2 separate regions of the Homo sapiens genome follow, and region 1 is linked to region 2. Evidence: promoter capture Hi-C in human tissues and cell types (Jung and others, 2019). All regions are on one chromosome and are shown on one strand. The core of a region is centred on a gene start or on the middle of the fragment in contact, and the rest is flanking DNA. Distances in the headings are between cores, read along the strand shown. Region 1 overlaps AXIN1 (axin 1). Region 2 holds the start of RAB11FIP3 (RAB11 family interacting protein 3).

Region 1 (7,096 bases), core at 4,597-7,096, 130 kb after region 2:
CTTTAGTGCCATATTTCACCCTCAGCCCCAGTGCAGGTGCCCGCAGCCAAGCCCACACCAGCTCTGGGGCACGCCTGTTCCAGTTGCATTTGGATACTTTTGCAGGTGTGAGAGTTGGGTGCTAAACGTTGGGAGGTTTGTTTATATTAAAATATAGAGGTAGGTGGGGCACAGTGGCTCACATCTGTAATCCCAACACTTTGAGAGGCCAAGACAGAAGGATCACTTGAGGCCAGGAATTTAAGAGCAGGTTGGACAACATAGTGAGATTCCCCATCTCTACAAAAAAAAAAGAAAAAGAAAAAATTAATGGGACATGGTGGCATGCACCTGTAGTCCCAGCTACTTGGCAGGCTGAAGCAGGAGGATCGCTTGACCCCTGGAGGTTGAGGCTGCCTTGAGCTGTGATGGCACCACTGCGATTAGGTGTGGTGGCTCACACCTGTAATCCTAGCACTTTGGGAGGCCAAGGTGGGTGGATCACCTGAGGTCAGGAGTTCGAGACCAGCCTGGCAAACAGGGTGAAACCCAGTCTCTACTAAAAATACAAAAAATTTAGCTGGGCATGGTGGTGGGTGCCTGTAATCCCAGCTACCCGGGAGGCTGAGGCAGGAGAATTACTTGAACCCGGGAGGCGGAGATTGCACTACAGCCTGGGACACAAGAGTGAAACTCCGTCTCAAAAAAAAATTAAATAAATAAAAATAGGCCGGGCACGGTGGCTCACACTTGTAATCCCAGCACTTTGGGAGGCCGAGGTGGGCAGATCACGAGGTCGGGAGATCGAGACCATCCTGGCTAACACGGTGAAACTCCATCTCTACTAAAAATATAAAAAATTAGCCGGGCGTGGTGGCGGGCACCTGTAGTCCCAGCTACTGGGCAGGCTGAGGCAGGAGAATGGTGTGAACCCGGGAGACGGAGGTTGCAGTGAGCCGAGATCGTGCCACTGCACTCCAGCCTGGGTGACAGAGCGAGACTCTGTCTCAAAAAAATGAAAATAAATAGGCCGGTTGTGGTGGCTCACTCCTGTAATCCCAGCACTTTGGGAGGCCGAGGGTGGTGGATTACCTGAGGTTAGGAGTTTGAGACCAGCCTGGCCAACATGGTGAAACCCCGTCTCTACTAAAAATACAAAAAAATTAGGCAGGCATGGTGGCACACTCCTATAATCCCAGCTACTCGGTAGGCTGAGGCAGGAGGATTGCTTGAGCCCGGGAGGTGGAGGTTGCAGTGAGCCAAGATCGTGCCACTGCACTCCAGCCTGGCTGACAGAGCGACTCTGACTCTAAATAAATAAATACATACATAGATACATGGTAACTTAGTTCCCTCTCTTTCTTTTGTATTGACACCAGATTTACTCAATACTGTTTTAGTTTGTCAGTCCAATAAGATGAGAAAATAAGTATGAGATGCAACTTGGAATTAAAGTGATCAAATGTTTGCTCTGACAGATAAGCTTCAGCACCTGTTAACTTGGAGAATCAAGTGAAACTCCACCGGCTTCATGTGGAAGCTCGTCAGGCAGCATCACAACATGTACATAACCCAAGAGCCGTTCTGTACAAGGTTCTCCTTAAAATATAATGGGAGGCCGGGCGCGGCGGCTCATGCCTGTCATCCCAACACTTTGGGAGGCCGAGGTGGGTGGATCATGAGGTCAGGAGTTCGAGACCAGCCTGGCCAACATAGTGAAATCCTGTCTCTACTAAAAATACAAAAATTAGCTGGGTGTGGTGGCGCACACCTGTAGTCTCAGCTACTTGGGAGGCTGAAGGAGGAGAATCACTTGAACCCAGGAGGCAGAGGTTGCAGGGAGCCGAGATGGCACCATTGCACTCCAGCCTGGGTAACAGAGCAAGACTCTGTCTCAAAAAATATATATATATACAGGCCAAGGCAGGCAGATTGCTTGAGCTCAGGCATTCGAGACCAGCCTGGCCAATATGGTGAGAATCGCATCTGTCCCCAAAGTACAAAAAAATTAGCTGGGCGTGGTGGCACACGGCTGTGGTCTCCGCTATTCTGGAGGCTGAGGTGGGAGGATCGCTTGAGCCTAGGAGGCGGAGGCTGCAGTGAGCTGAGATCACACCACTGTTCTCCAGCCTGGGCAACAGAGCAAGAACTTGTCTCAAAAAAAGAATAAAACTAAACTAAATCTGTGCAGAGCTCTGCCCACAGCCGATACATACGCTGCATTCCTTGAGGCCTTGCTGTCTCCGCTCCTTCTGTCTATGCCCCGTCCTGCCTCTCCATCCTCAGGGACAGGACCGGTGGCGAGGGGCCCCCGGCCACCCTGGGCTGGGACGGCATCTGCTGGGGCTGCTGGGTCAGGCCTGATGCTTTTTGTTTTCCCCAAGTGTGCAGCTGGTGCTGAGAGGTGATGGTGCTGCTTGTCCCCACACAGGAGGAGGAAGGTGAGGACGGCGATCCATCGTCAGGGCCCCCAGGGCCGTGTCACAAGCTGCCTCCCGCCCCCGCTTGGCACCACTTCCCGCCCCGCTGTGTGGACATGGGCTGTGCCGGGCTCCGGGATGCACACGAGGAGAACCCTGAGAGCATCCTGGACGAGCACGTACAGCGTGTGCTGAGGACACCTGGCCGCCAGTCGCCTGGGCCTGGCCATCGCTCCCCGGACAGTGGGCACGTGGCCAAGATGCCAGTGGCACTGGGGGGTGCCGCCTCGGGGCACGGGAAGCACGTACCCAAGTCAGGGGCGAAGCTGGACGCGGCCGGCCTGCACCACCACCGACACGTCCACCACCACGTCCACCACAGCACAGCCCGGCCCAAGGAGCAGGTGGAGGCCGAGGCCACCCGCAGGGCCCAGAGCAGCTTCGCCTGGGGCCTGGAACCACACAGCCATGGGGCAAGGTCCCGAGGCTACTCAGAGAGTGTTGGCGCTGCCCCCAACGCCAGTGATGGCCTCGCCCACAGGTGAGCGTGCGCCTGTCAGTGAGGAGGGGGCTTGGGGTGAGGCTGTGTCCCTGCAGAAGGCCAGAACCTCCTCATAAAACTCAGGAAACCCAGGACCGCCAGCAACAGGCAGGAGGCCCCTCTGCTGGAGGGAGTGGACTGGGCCCTGGGTCAGGGGAGTCCACGCCGTGACCTCAGGTGGGAGATGAAGGTTAGGGGACACAGCCCGACCCTGGCTCCCGCTCTGGCCCTCAGTCTTCAGGGGGTGAGCAGTGACTGCCTGTGTGTTTAGAGAGGAAACCAACCCCCAGACAGCACCAGGACAGCGGGCAGGGGACAGCGGGTGGGGGACAAGCTGGCGGGGGACAGCGGGTGGGGGACAAGCGGGCAGGGGACAGCGGGCGGCGGCTGCACCACGGGAGCCTTACAGATGCCAGGAGGGGGCCTCGCAGACGAGGAAGGGGCACAGCCTCGGCCACCGGAGGCCAGGGCGACTCGCAGCTCTTGCCCTTGCAGTGGGAAGGTGGGCGTGGCGTGCAAAAGAAATGCCAAGAAGGCTGAGTCGGGGAAGAGCGCCAGCACCGAGGTGCCAGGTGCCTCGGAGGATGCGGAGAAGAACCAGAAAATCATGCAGTGGATCATTGAGGGGGAAAAGGAGATCAGCAGGCACCGCAGGACCGGCCACGGGTGAGCACCCCGCACGCAGCCAGCCTCGTGGGGCCTGCTTTGCCACCCCTGGCCTCCGCACAGTCTCAGTGTGTGCAGCTTCAGTGTGTGTGGCGAGTGTCGCCTGTGACGCCTCACACTTCCCCTGTCACTGTGGCACCCTCCCGGGCACCCTCCAGCAGGCTCCCTGGGCCCCACGTCTCCAGGAGGAAAACCTCATGTCCCCAGAGAGAGGCTGTCCCTGAAGCCCCGAGCAGGAGGGAAGCTGACGTGGCTGTCACCCCGCAGGCAGCACAGATGCTCTCGGGAGGTCATTTCCAGTCTGACCCCCACATGAGAATGACCTAAGTCACCTGGGAAGGCCCCCACTGACCATCACTCCCGAGGTGCCCACGGAGGAGCCTTCTGTGCTCACACCTGGCCGTCCTGCTGAGGGCTGGGGAAGGCTCTTGTGTAGCGTGAGCACTTCTCTCCTCCCAGAAGGGCAGAGGCCTCGTGTGTGGTGTGGAGCAAGGCCCCGGCGCCACAGGTCCAGCCCCTGCCGCTGCCCGCCGGGCCGGTCTTGGTGTTGCTCCTGCTCGCCCCCTGGGCCTGCACTCGTGCCCGGAACCCAGCAGGAGGGCCAGGGGCCCCACAGAGGTGGTACCCCCCACCTTCCTGTCGTGGTCAGAGGCAGGTCAGCTGGGAAGTGTTGGCCCTGGTGGGTGGATGGCCCCAGCTTCCTCAGACTTAGGTCCTGATCTGCCCCCCACCCTCACCCAGGCCCTGGCCAGGACGCATCTCCCTCCACATTACTTGATGAGAACTTGTGAGGCAGCTGAGCGCCTGGGGCGTGGCCCTCCTGCCTGTGTTGGAAGCCTGTCCCGCAAGGCCTTGGGGTCCCCATCGGTGCTGACTGAGGTGGGGACGGGCTCATCGTTTTTCTGGGGCTCCCGAGGGAACAGGGGTGCACAGCACCTTGCCTGGCTCATTTTTTGTAGAGGGGGTCTCAGTGTGTTGCCCAGCTGGGTCTCAAGCTTTTGGGCTCAAGTGATCCTCCCACCTTGGCCTCCCAAAATGCTGGGACTACAGGCATGAGCCACCATTCCTGGCCTTCGAGTCTTTTTTTTTGAGACGGAGTCTAGCTCTGTCGCCCGGGCTGGAGTGCAGTGGTGCAATCTTGGCTAACTGCAACCTCCACCTCCTGGGTTCAAGCAATTCTCCTGCCTCAGCCTCCCGAGTAGCTGGGATTACAGGCGTGAGCCACCACGCCCGGCTGATTTTTGTATTTTTAGTAGAGACCGGGGCAGGGGGTGGTTGCCATGTTAGGCTGATCTCGAACTCCCAACCTTTGGTGATCCGCCTGCCTCGGCCTCCTGGAGTGCTAGGATTACAGGCGTGAGCCACCGTGCCCGGCCGAATCCTTTTTTTAAATAGCTGTATATACTAAATATTGCATGTCCCATATTTTAGGATAAGTATTAATACATTCCACTTTGAGACATACTTATACTTTTTATTCATTAAGACTTTTTTTTTAATTTTTTGCGACAGAGTCTCCCTCTGTCACCCTGGCTGAAGTGCAGTGGTGTAATCACACCGTTCACTGCAGTCTCAGCCTCCTGGACTCAAAGCTATCCGCCGGCCTCTAGGATTAGTATATAATTTGTATCCCAGTAAAGCTGTTAAAAATAAAATGTAAAAAAAGAAGCCTCATCCCAGCACTTTGGGAGGCCGAGGCAGGTGGATCGCTTGAGGTCCGGAGTTCGAGACCAGACTGGCCAACATGACAAAAACTCCATCTCTACTAAAAAAAATACAAAAAATTAGCCGTGTGTGGTGGCGAGTGCCAGTAATCCCAGCTACTCGGTGGCTGAGGCAGGAGAGTCGCTTGAACCTGGGAGGCGGAGATTGCAGTGAGCCGAGATCCGAGGTCGAGCCATTGCACTGCAGCCTGGGCAACAAGAGCAAAACTCTGTCTCAAAAAAAGAAAAAAAAAAAGTCTCCATGAAAGAATTTTTTTTTTTTTTTTTTGAGACGGAGTCTTGCTCTGTTGCCCAGGCTGGAGTGCAGTGGCCTGATCTCAGCTCACTGCAAGCCTCGCCTCCCGGGTTCATGCCATTCTCCTGCCTCAGCCTCAAGAGCAGCTGGGACTGCAGGCGCCCGCCACCACGCCCGGCTAATTTTTTGTATTTTTTTAGTAGAGGTGGGGTTTCACCGTGTTAGCCAGGACGGTCTCGATCTCTTGACCTCGTGATCCGCCCTCCTCAGCCTCCCAAAGTGCTGGGATTACAGGCGTGAGCCACCGCGCCTGGCCTTTTTTTTTTTTTTTTTTTTTTTTTGAGATGGGGTTTCGCTCCTGTGGCTCAGGCTGGAGTGCAACAGGCCAGTGTCAACGCACTGCAACCTCCACCTCCCAGGTTCAAGTGGTTCTCCTGTCTAACCCACCTGAGTAGCTGGGATTACAGGCACCCACTATTATGCCCAGTTAACTTTTTGTATTTTTGTAGAAACAGGGTTTCACCATGTTGGCCAGGCTGGTCTTGAACTCCTGACCTCAGATGATCCACCCGCCTCGGCCTCCCAGCGTGCTGGGATTACCGCGCCTGGCCATTTTTTTTTTTTTTTTTTTTTTTTGAGATGGAGTCTCACTCTTGCCTAGGCTGGAGTGCAGTGGTGCAATCTCAGCTCACCGCAACCTCTGCCTCCCAGGTTCAAGCGATTCTCCTGCCTCAGCCTCCCGAGTAACTAGAATTACTGGTATCCACCACCACACTTGGGTAATTTTTTGTATTTTTTGAGTAGAGTCATGGTTTTGCCATGTTGGCCAGGCTGTTCTTGAACTCCTGACCTCAGGCGATCCACCCACCTTGGCCTCCCAGAGTATTGGGATTACAGGCAAATGAGGGTTGGTTTTTTGTTGTCTTTTTTATTCCTGAGACTGAGCCTCACTCTGTCACCCAGGCTGGAGTGCGGTGGCGTGATCCCGGCTCACTGTAACCTCCACTTCCCCAGTTCCAGCCATTCTCGGGCCCCAGCCTCCAGAGTAGCAGGGATGACAGGCGCCCAGCTAATTTTGTATATTTAGTAGCGATGAGGTTTCACCATGTTAGGTTGATCTCGAACTCCCGACCTCTGGTGATCTGCCCGCCTCGGCCTCCCGAAATGCTGGGATTACAGGTGTGAGCCACCATGCCTGGCCGGGATGTTTTTATTGTGTGGTCTGTGGAGGACGTCCATGTGGCTTGGTGGCCAGGCCCCAGTGCCCCATCCCATCCTATCCCTCAAGGAGGCTGCCCTTGTGAGATGAGTGTAGCCCCACCAGGCCACCTGGCCAGGGTGTCGGCCACAGTCACAACTTGTTCTCTTGTTCCCCAAGGTCTTCGGGGACGAGGAAGCCACAGCCCCATGAGAACTCCAGACCCTTGTCCCTTGAGCACCCCTGGGCCGGCCCTCAGCTCCGGACCTCCGTGCAGCCCTCCCACCTCTTCATCCAAGACCCCACCATGCCACCCCACCCAGCTCCCAACCC
Region 2 (6,969 bases), core at 1-2,500:
AGCGCAATTCAACCAGAAATCCAGGGCCGAAGTGGTGAATAAGCAGAAAAAGCAGGACCGTCAGGTCTTGACAGTGCCTTTCCCGACTCCAGGGGCAGCGTCGACCGGTCCCACATCAACCCCGCCGGCCAGCGCGCACCTGCCCAGTTCCCACGCCCCGGCCCGGGCCGCTCCGTACCTGCTCTGCCCCGTAGACCGTAGCAAACTGGATGAAGTCCTCGATGCGGACGAAACCGTCCCCATCCCCGTCCAGGGCATCGAACACGGCTCGGAGGCGGGGGCCGTCCTCCTGACTCCCCACGGGCTCGCTCGGAAGGGGGTGGGTCTGGCTGAGGTCCGAGGGCTGCGGCGGGGACCCGGGACCTTGCTCCAGCGCCAGCTCGCCCGCCGTGGGCGCGGGGAAGGGAGAGAAGACGTCGACCTCGCCCCGCGCTCGGTGGCTGCTGCTGGACCCCTGCAAGCGGAAAGGCGCGCTCTCCGGGCAGCTCGCGGGGCCACACTCCTCGGGCTCCTCAGTCCAGGAGAACAACGGGTCGAGTTCTGGAAGCGGCGCTTCGGAGCGCGGCCCTGGGCCCGGGGCGTCGGGGCTCGCAAGCTGCCCCCGCGGGCCGGAGCGCGGCGGCGGGGCGGACGGCCCGGGGTCTCGCGGGCCTCCCTCCAGCCCCGGGGCCGGCCCGGCGCTCCAACGCGCCCCGCCATCTGCAGCGGCCCCGGGCGCAGGCTCATCCAGGCCCGGGGACTGCGGGTCGGGGCCGCCGACGGGCGCTCCGAGGCGTAGCTCCGCAGGGCCCGGAGCCAGTTGTGCCGCCCCCGGCCCGTCCGGCCCGCCCGGCTCCGGGTCGGGCCCCGGCGGCTCCGAGCCCGGGGGCGAGGCCGGCGGGGCCGACGCCATGCTCCCGAGAGGCTAGTGGTGCGGAAGGGCGCGGGCGGCAGACAAAGGCGCTCAGGGCGCGGCGGCGGGCGCGGGCATCCCCTCGGCGGCGCGGGCGGGCGCGCGCGGGGCGCCCGGGCTGCTGGGGCTGGCGCTCGGGCCCTGCTCTGTCCTCGCCCATCTTCGCACCGCGCCTCAGCTGCCCTCGGCCCGGCGGCGCGGCGGGCGCAGGCCCATGGCGGCGGGGCGGCCTAGGGAGGGCGGCGAGGATCCGGGCGGCGGATGGCGGGGGACGGGGGCCGAGGAGGCCGGGGGACGGGGGCCGAGGAGGCCGGAGGCCGCGGAGCCTGTGAAGCAGGATGAGGAGACTAAGGAGGCTGAGGCGCCTGAGGTACCCGGAGAACTAACGCCGCCGCCGCCCAGGCCCCGCCCCCCGTCGGGCCTGACGTCAGCACGTCCCGGCGGGGTCCCAGCCCCTCGCCGGCTTGCTGTAGAGGCAGGCGCCGGGTGTGTCGCGGCAGTGCAGCGGCCGCGAAGGGGTGTTTTGCTGTATGTCATATTCCTCGTTTCGCCAGAGCGGGGGTCCCGAGCTTCGGGCGCGGGACGCGGGGGTGCTCCGAGGCTGCGAGTGGAGGCGTGACGTGACGTCCCTGGCAAGAGGCGCGCGGAGTCAGGCCTTACTTAGAACGTGTTCCCGCCGCACAGCTACCAGCGGGCGCGACCGCTACCCACGCATGGTGCGGTCGAGTAAACGGCACCGCCTGGCGAGCGAGAGACGCAAAGGGACATAGCCCCCTAGGAGCTGAGCTCTTCGGGGGTAAAGCGTTCTCACGTTGATGAGACCAGGAGGCGGCGCACGCCTGGCTCCGCGGCCCAGGGGTTGCAGGTGCCCCAGGGTTCGCGGGGCGCAGACGCCGCAGAGGGCGACGCCCTGCCCGGGTCCCGCGCGGACCCGGGGGACGCAGGGTCTGACACGGAGTGCGGAGGGGCCCCAGACACGCAGTCCATGTCCCTTGAAACCAGAGGCACGCGCGGCCACGCGCTAGGCCTTTCCCTTAAGCCTGTGACCAAGATCTCCGGGACTCCCAGCGTTGGGACGGGCGCGCTGGCCCACGCCCAAGCGGGAGGATCGCTTGCGCCCAGGAGATTGAGACCAGCCTGAGCACCAAAGCGAGACCTCGTCTCTACAAAAAATAAGACTCAAGAAGACACCCAGGGTGAATCGCCCGTCTGCAGCCAGCCTCCCGAGCACCGTGGCCGCGTCTGACAACTGACCTCTGTGTCTGGGTGTCCCTGTCCTCAGAGGGACACGGGACCTCAGAAAGGACCACAGCCCGGCGGCAGGCATGATGGTGGGAAAGCTAGTTAGGACAGGTGAGGCACTAAATTTAGCCTGTCATAATTTGTATCAGGGAAATGATGAACTTGTATTTTTACACACCATGGGCACCAACACAAGATATGGTTTCGTAAGCAGCTTTGGCAAGAACCAAAGGAACGGAACCTCTGCTTCCAAGTGTACGGTCAGGAGCAGCGTGTTAATTAAGTGAGTCATCTTCCGTGGCAGAATCCCAGGGTACATGGGACCAGACTTCGCGAGGCTGGCATTAGGAAAAGGAATGTGAGGGATCCTCCTCCCCAAACCGTATTCTCATTTTCTTGTAAGAGCTGTACGTGTTCATGAGGAAGATACTGCATTCAAAGAACGAAATCACCAGCAGCTTTGGCAAGAATTCAAATTTGGGCTGATGCCTTCGGCCGGATAAAATTTTCAGAAGCAGTGATAGTGATGTGTCAACCTTTCTAAATAGGGGTGTTAGTGTGGGCGAGGCAGAGACAGCAGGCTCCCTCTGCTTTTATGTGCCGGCGCTGCCAGAGGCAGAAGGCTGGCTTTCTGAGAGCAGGGGCCCGCACGCTCTGTCTGTGCTAGGGCTGGAAAACGTCCATTGCGTGCCCGGCTGGTGTCCTCCATGGAACCACAGCCTGGAAGCCTGCACCTCCCTGCCTGGACCAGTTAGAGGCTGTTCATGAAAGACTAAAGGGACAAGTTCCCGTCTATCCGTCTGCTGTTCAGAGCTACTATCTGTGTCCCCTTTGTAGGCTGTGGGCTGTAGCAGTTCCTTCTTTTCTTTTCTTTTCTTTTTTTTCCCCGAGACAGGGTTTTGCTCTGTTGCCCAGGCTGCAGTGCAGTGGTGCGACCATAGCTCACGGCAGCCTCAACCTCCTAGGCTCAAGAGATCCTCCCACCTTAGGCCAGGTGTGGTAGCTCATGCCTGTAATCCCAGGACTGTGGGAGGCTGAGGCGGGCGGATCACGAGGTCAGAAAATGGAGACCATCCTGGCTAACACGGTGAAACCCCGTCTCTACTAAAAATACAAAAAAACAAAAATTAGCCAGGTGTGGTGGCAGGCACCTGTAGTCCCAGCTATTTGGGAGGCTGAGGCAGGAGAAAGGCGTGAACCCGGGAGGCAGAGCTTGCAGCGAGCCAAGATTGCACCATTGCACTCCAGCCTGGATGATAGAGCAAGACTCCGTCTCCAAAATAAAAAATAAAAATAGAAGAGAGATCCTCCCACCTCAGCCTCTCCAGTAGCTGAGACCACAGATCTGCAGCACCTTATTATCTTTTTTTTTTTTTTGATATGGAGTCTCACTCTGTCGCCCAGGCTGGAGTGCAATGGCGCGATCTCTGGTCACTGCAACCTCCGCCTCCCGGGTTCAAGTGATTCCCCTACCTCAGCCTCCTGAGTAGCTGGGATTACAGGCGTATGCCACCAAGGCCGGCTAATTTTTTGTATTTTTAGTAGAGACCGGGGTTTCACCATGTTGGTCAAGCTGGTCTCAAACTCCTGACCTCAAGTGATCCGCCCACCTCGGCCTCCCAAAGTGCTGGGATTATTGGCATGAGTCACCACACTTGGCCTCAACATGCGTTTTGGAGGGTATAAACATTCAAAGCATAGCCTCCATCTTCTCACTCTGTCCTCACATGTTGGAGAAAGATTGTCTCTTTTGGGCTGGGCGTGGGAGCTCATGCCTGTAATTCCAGCACTTTGGGAGGCCGAGGCGGGTGGATCACGAGGTCAGGAGTTCAAGACCAGCCTGGCCAAGATGGTGAAACCCCGTATCTACTAAAAAATAGAAAATTTAGGCCGGGCGCGGTTGCTCAGCCTATAATCCCAGCACTTTGGGAGGCAAGGTGGGCGGATCACAAGGTCAAGAGATCGAAAACATCCTGGCAAACATGGTGAAACCCTGTCTCTACTAAAAATACAAAAATTAGCCGGGTGTGGTGGCACCCACCTGTAGTCCCAGCTACTCGGGAGCCTGAGGGAGGAGAATCGCTTGAACCTGGGAGGCAGAGGTTGCAGTGAGCGAAGATCGCACCACTGCACTCCAGCCTGGCGACAGAGCGAGACTCCACCTAAAAAATATATGTATATATTAGCCGGCCGTGGTGGCGGGCACCTGTAATCCCAGCTACTCAGGAGGCTGAGGCAAAGAATTGCTTGAACCCGGGAGGTGGAGGTTGCAGTGAGTCAAGATCACACCACTGTACTGCAGCCTGGGTGATGGAGTGAGACTCTGTCTCAAAAAAAAAGAAAAAAAATTATCCGGGGGCGGTGGCGGGTGCGTGTAATCCCAGCTACTCAGGAGGCTGAACAGGGTAATCACTTGAGCCTGGGAGGCAGAGGTTGCAATGAGCTGAGATCCAGCCACTACACTCCAGCCTGGGCAACAGAGCGAGACTATCTCAAAAAAAAAAAAAAGGCGGGCGTAATGGCTCACGCCTGTAATCCCAACACTTTAGGAGGCCAAGGCGGGTGGATAACCTGAGGTCAGGAGTTCGAGACTAGCCTGGCCAACATGGTAAAACCCTGTCTCTACTAAAAATACAAAAACTAGCTGAGCGTGGTGGCGTGTCCTGTAATCCCAGCTACCTGGGAGGCTGAGGCAGGAGAATACTTGAACCCGGGAGGTGGAGGTTGCAGTGAGCCAAGATCCCACCATTGCACTCCAGCCTGGGCAACAAGAGGGAAACTCCATCTCAAGGAAAACAATAAAATAAAAATAAGGCTGGGCACGGTGCCTCACGCCTGTAATCCCAGCACTCTGGGAGACCGATGCGGGTGGATTACCTGAGGTCAGGAGTTCAAGACCAGGCTTGCCATGGTGAAACCCCATCTCTACTAAAAATACAAAAAATTAGCCAGGCATGGTGGTGCATGCCTGTAATCCCAGCTACTTGGGAGGCTGAGGCAGGAGAATCACTAGAACCTGGGAGGCGGAGGTTGCAGTGAATCGAGATTGTGCCATGGCACTCCAGCCTGGGCAGCAAGAGTGAAACTCCGTCTCAAAAAAAGAAAAAAGAAAAAAAAAGACTGTCTCTTCTAATAAGGGCACTGTTCCCATCGTGAGGGCCCCACCTTGCTGACCGTATCTAACCCTAATTATTATTATTATTATTTTTTTTTGAGACGGAGTCTTGCTCTGTCGTCCAGGCTGAAGTGCAATGGCGCCATCTCAGCTCACTGCAATCTCTGCCTCCCGGATTCATGCCATTCTCCTGCCTCAGCCTCCCCAGTAGCTGGGACCACAGGCACCCGCCACCATGCCTGGCTAATTGTTTTGTATTTTTACTAGAGCCGGGGTTTCACCGTGTTAACCAGGATGGTCTCGATCTCCTGAGCTCATGATCCACCCGCCTCGGCATCCCAAAGTGCTGGGATTACAGGCGTGAGCCACCGCGCCCGGCCCTAACCCTAAGTTATACCTCCCAAAGACCTCATCTCCAAATACCATCCCGTTGGCGTTAGGACTCCAATATATAAATTTTGGGGTAGCAACTGGGAAGAGAGAGTTAGAATGGATTTAATGGACAAAATATTCATTTCTAGAATACACAAAAGAATTTCTCAAAAAACAGTAAACGAACAGCAACCCGATAGAAAAACGAGGAAAGAATATGAATAAGCAGCTCCAGAAGAGGAAATTCAGGTGGCCGGTAAACACATGAAAAAGATGCTCATCTTCACTGGTCACCAGGAAAATGTGTGAGTGTAGCCCTTGACACCAATCAGAGTAAGTCTGGGGACACCAGGGAGTGGGGATTTGGCACCAGTCGTGCAGCTGAAGGTCGGAATACTCCAGTGTGGGATCCGCCTTCCAGTACCTGCCGGAGAAACTGCACATGTCCGCAGGGAGATGGAAAGACCTTGTTTCCTTCGGGGATTTGTACTTCTCTGGAAGAAGAGCCGAACGGCTTCAGTGGAGCCTGTTGTCTGTTGTGAAGTGTAGCAGTTTAAGTGAGTGCACCACATCTGCACAATTGATAGTACATGCTATGTAATACCATTTTTCATTTATTTTTTTAGACAGAATTCTGTTCTTGTTGCCCAGGCCGGAGTGCAGTGGCACGGTCTCAGCTCACGGCAGCCTCCATCTCCTGGGTTCAAGCGATTCTCCTGCCTCAGCCTCCCGAGTAGCTGGGATTACAGGTGCCCGCCACCACACCCAGCTAATTTTTGTATTTTTCGTAGAGACGGGGTTGCACCATCTCGGCCAGGCTGATCTGGAACTCCTGACCTCAGGTGATCTGCCCGCCTTGGCTTCCCAAAGTGCTAGGATTACAGGCGTGAGCCAACGTGCCTAGCCAATTTTTGTTAAGTTTAAAAACACATGATCAATGACCTATCTTGTTTTCAAATGCTTTCGTTTGTAGTAAAAAATACCTAAACATACTTGAGAATTACATTGAGGCCGTGTGCGGTGGCTCACACCTGTAATCCCAACTTTGGGAGGCCAATGGGGTGGATCACTTGAGGTCAGGAGTTCAAGACCAGCCTGGCCAAAATACTGAAACCTGTCTCTACAAAAATACAAAAAATTAGCCAGGCATGGTGGCGCATGCCTGTAATCCCAGCTACTGGGGAGGCTGAGGCAGGAGAATTGCTAGAACCCCGGAGACGGAGGTTGCAGTGAGCTGAGATCACACCATTGCACTCCAGCCTGGGTAACAGAGCGAGACTCTGTCTCAAAAAAAAAAAAAAAAAGAAAGAAAGAAAAAAGAATTATATTCAAGAGGACAGACAGAAGA

Evidence for each region. The method cuts DNA at HindIII sites, captures the fragments that hold promoters and counts their contacts. A contact is called where the count stands out against the background at its distance.
Region 1: a contact is called between a fragment that was not itself captured here and the fragment with the promoter of RAB11FIP3 in region 2, in 1 of the 25 tissues and cell types used here (dorsolateral prefrontal cortex).

Annotation. Positions count from the first base shown.
Region 1 is chr16:293,566-300,661 of GRCh38, reverse strand. It overlaps AXIN1 (axin 1), which reads left to right. Exons shown (of 11, transcript NM_003502.4): 6 at 2,411-2,940; 7 at 3,436-3,606; 8 at 6,944-7,096. Among named protein-coding and RNA genes, the nearest start is that of PDIA2, 14 kb to the right of the region's middle. The HindIII fragment of the contact is 5,628 bases long and covers 3,033-7,096 here.
Region 2 is chr16:419,930-426,898 of GRCh38, reverse strand. It overlaps RAB11FIP3 (RAB11 family interacting protein 3), which reads right to left and starts at 1,250. Exons shown (of 14, transcript NM_014700.4): 1 at 179-1,250. The coding sequence starts at 892. The HindIII fragment of the contact is 17,968 bases long and covers 1-6,969 here.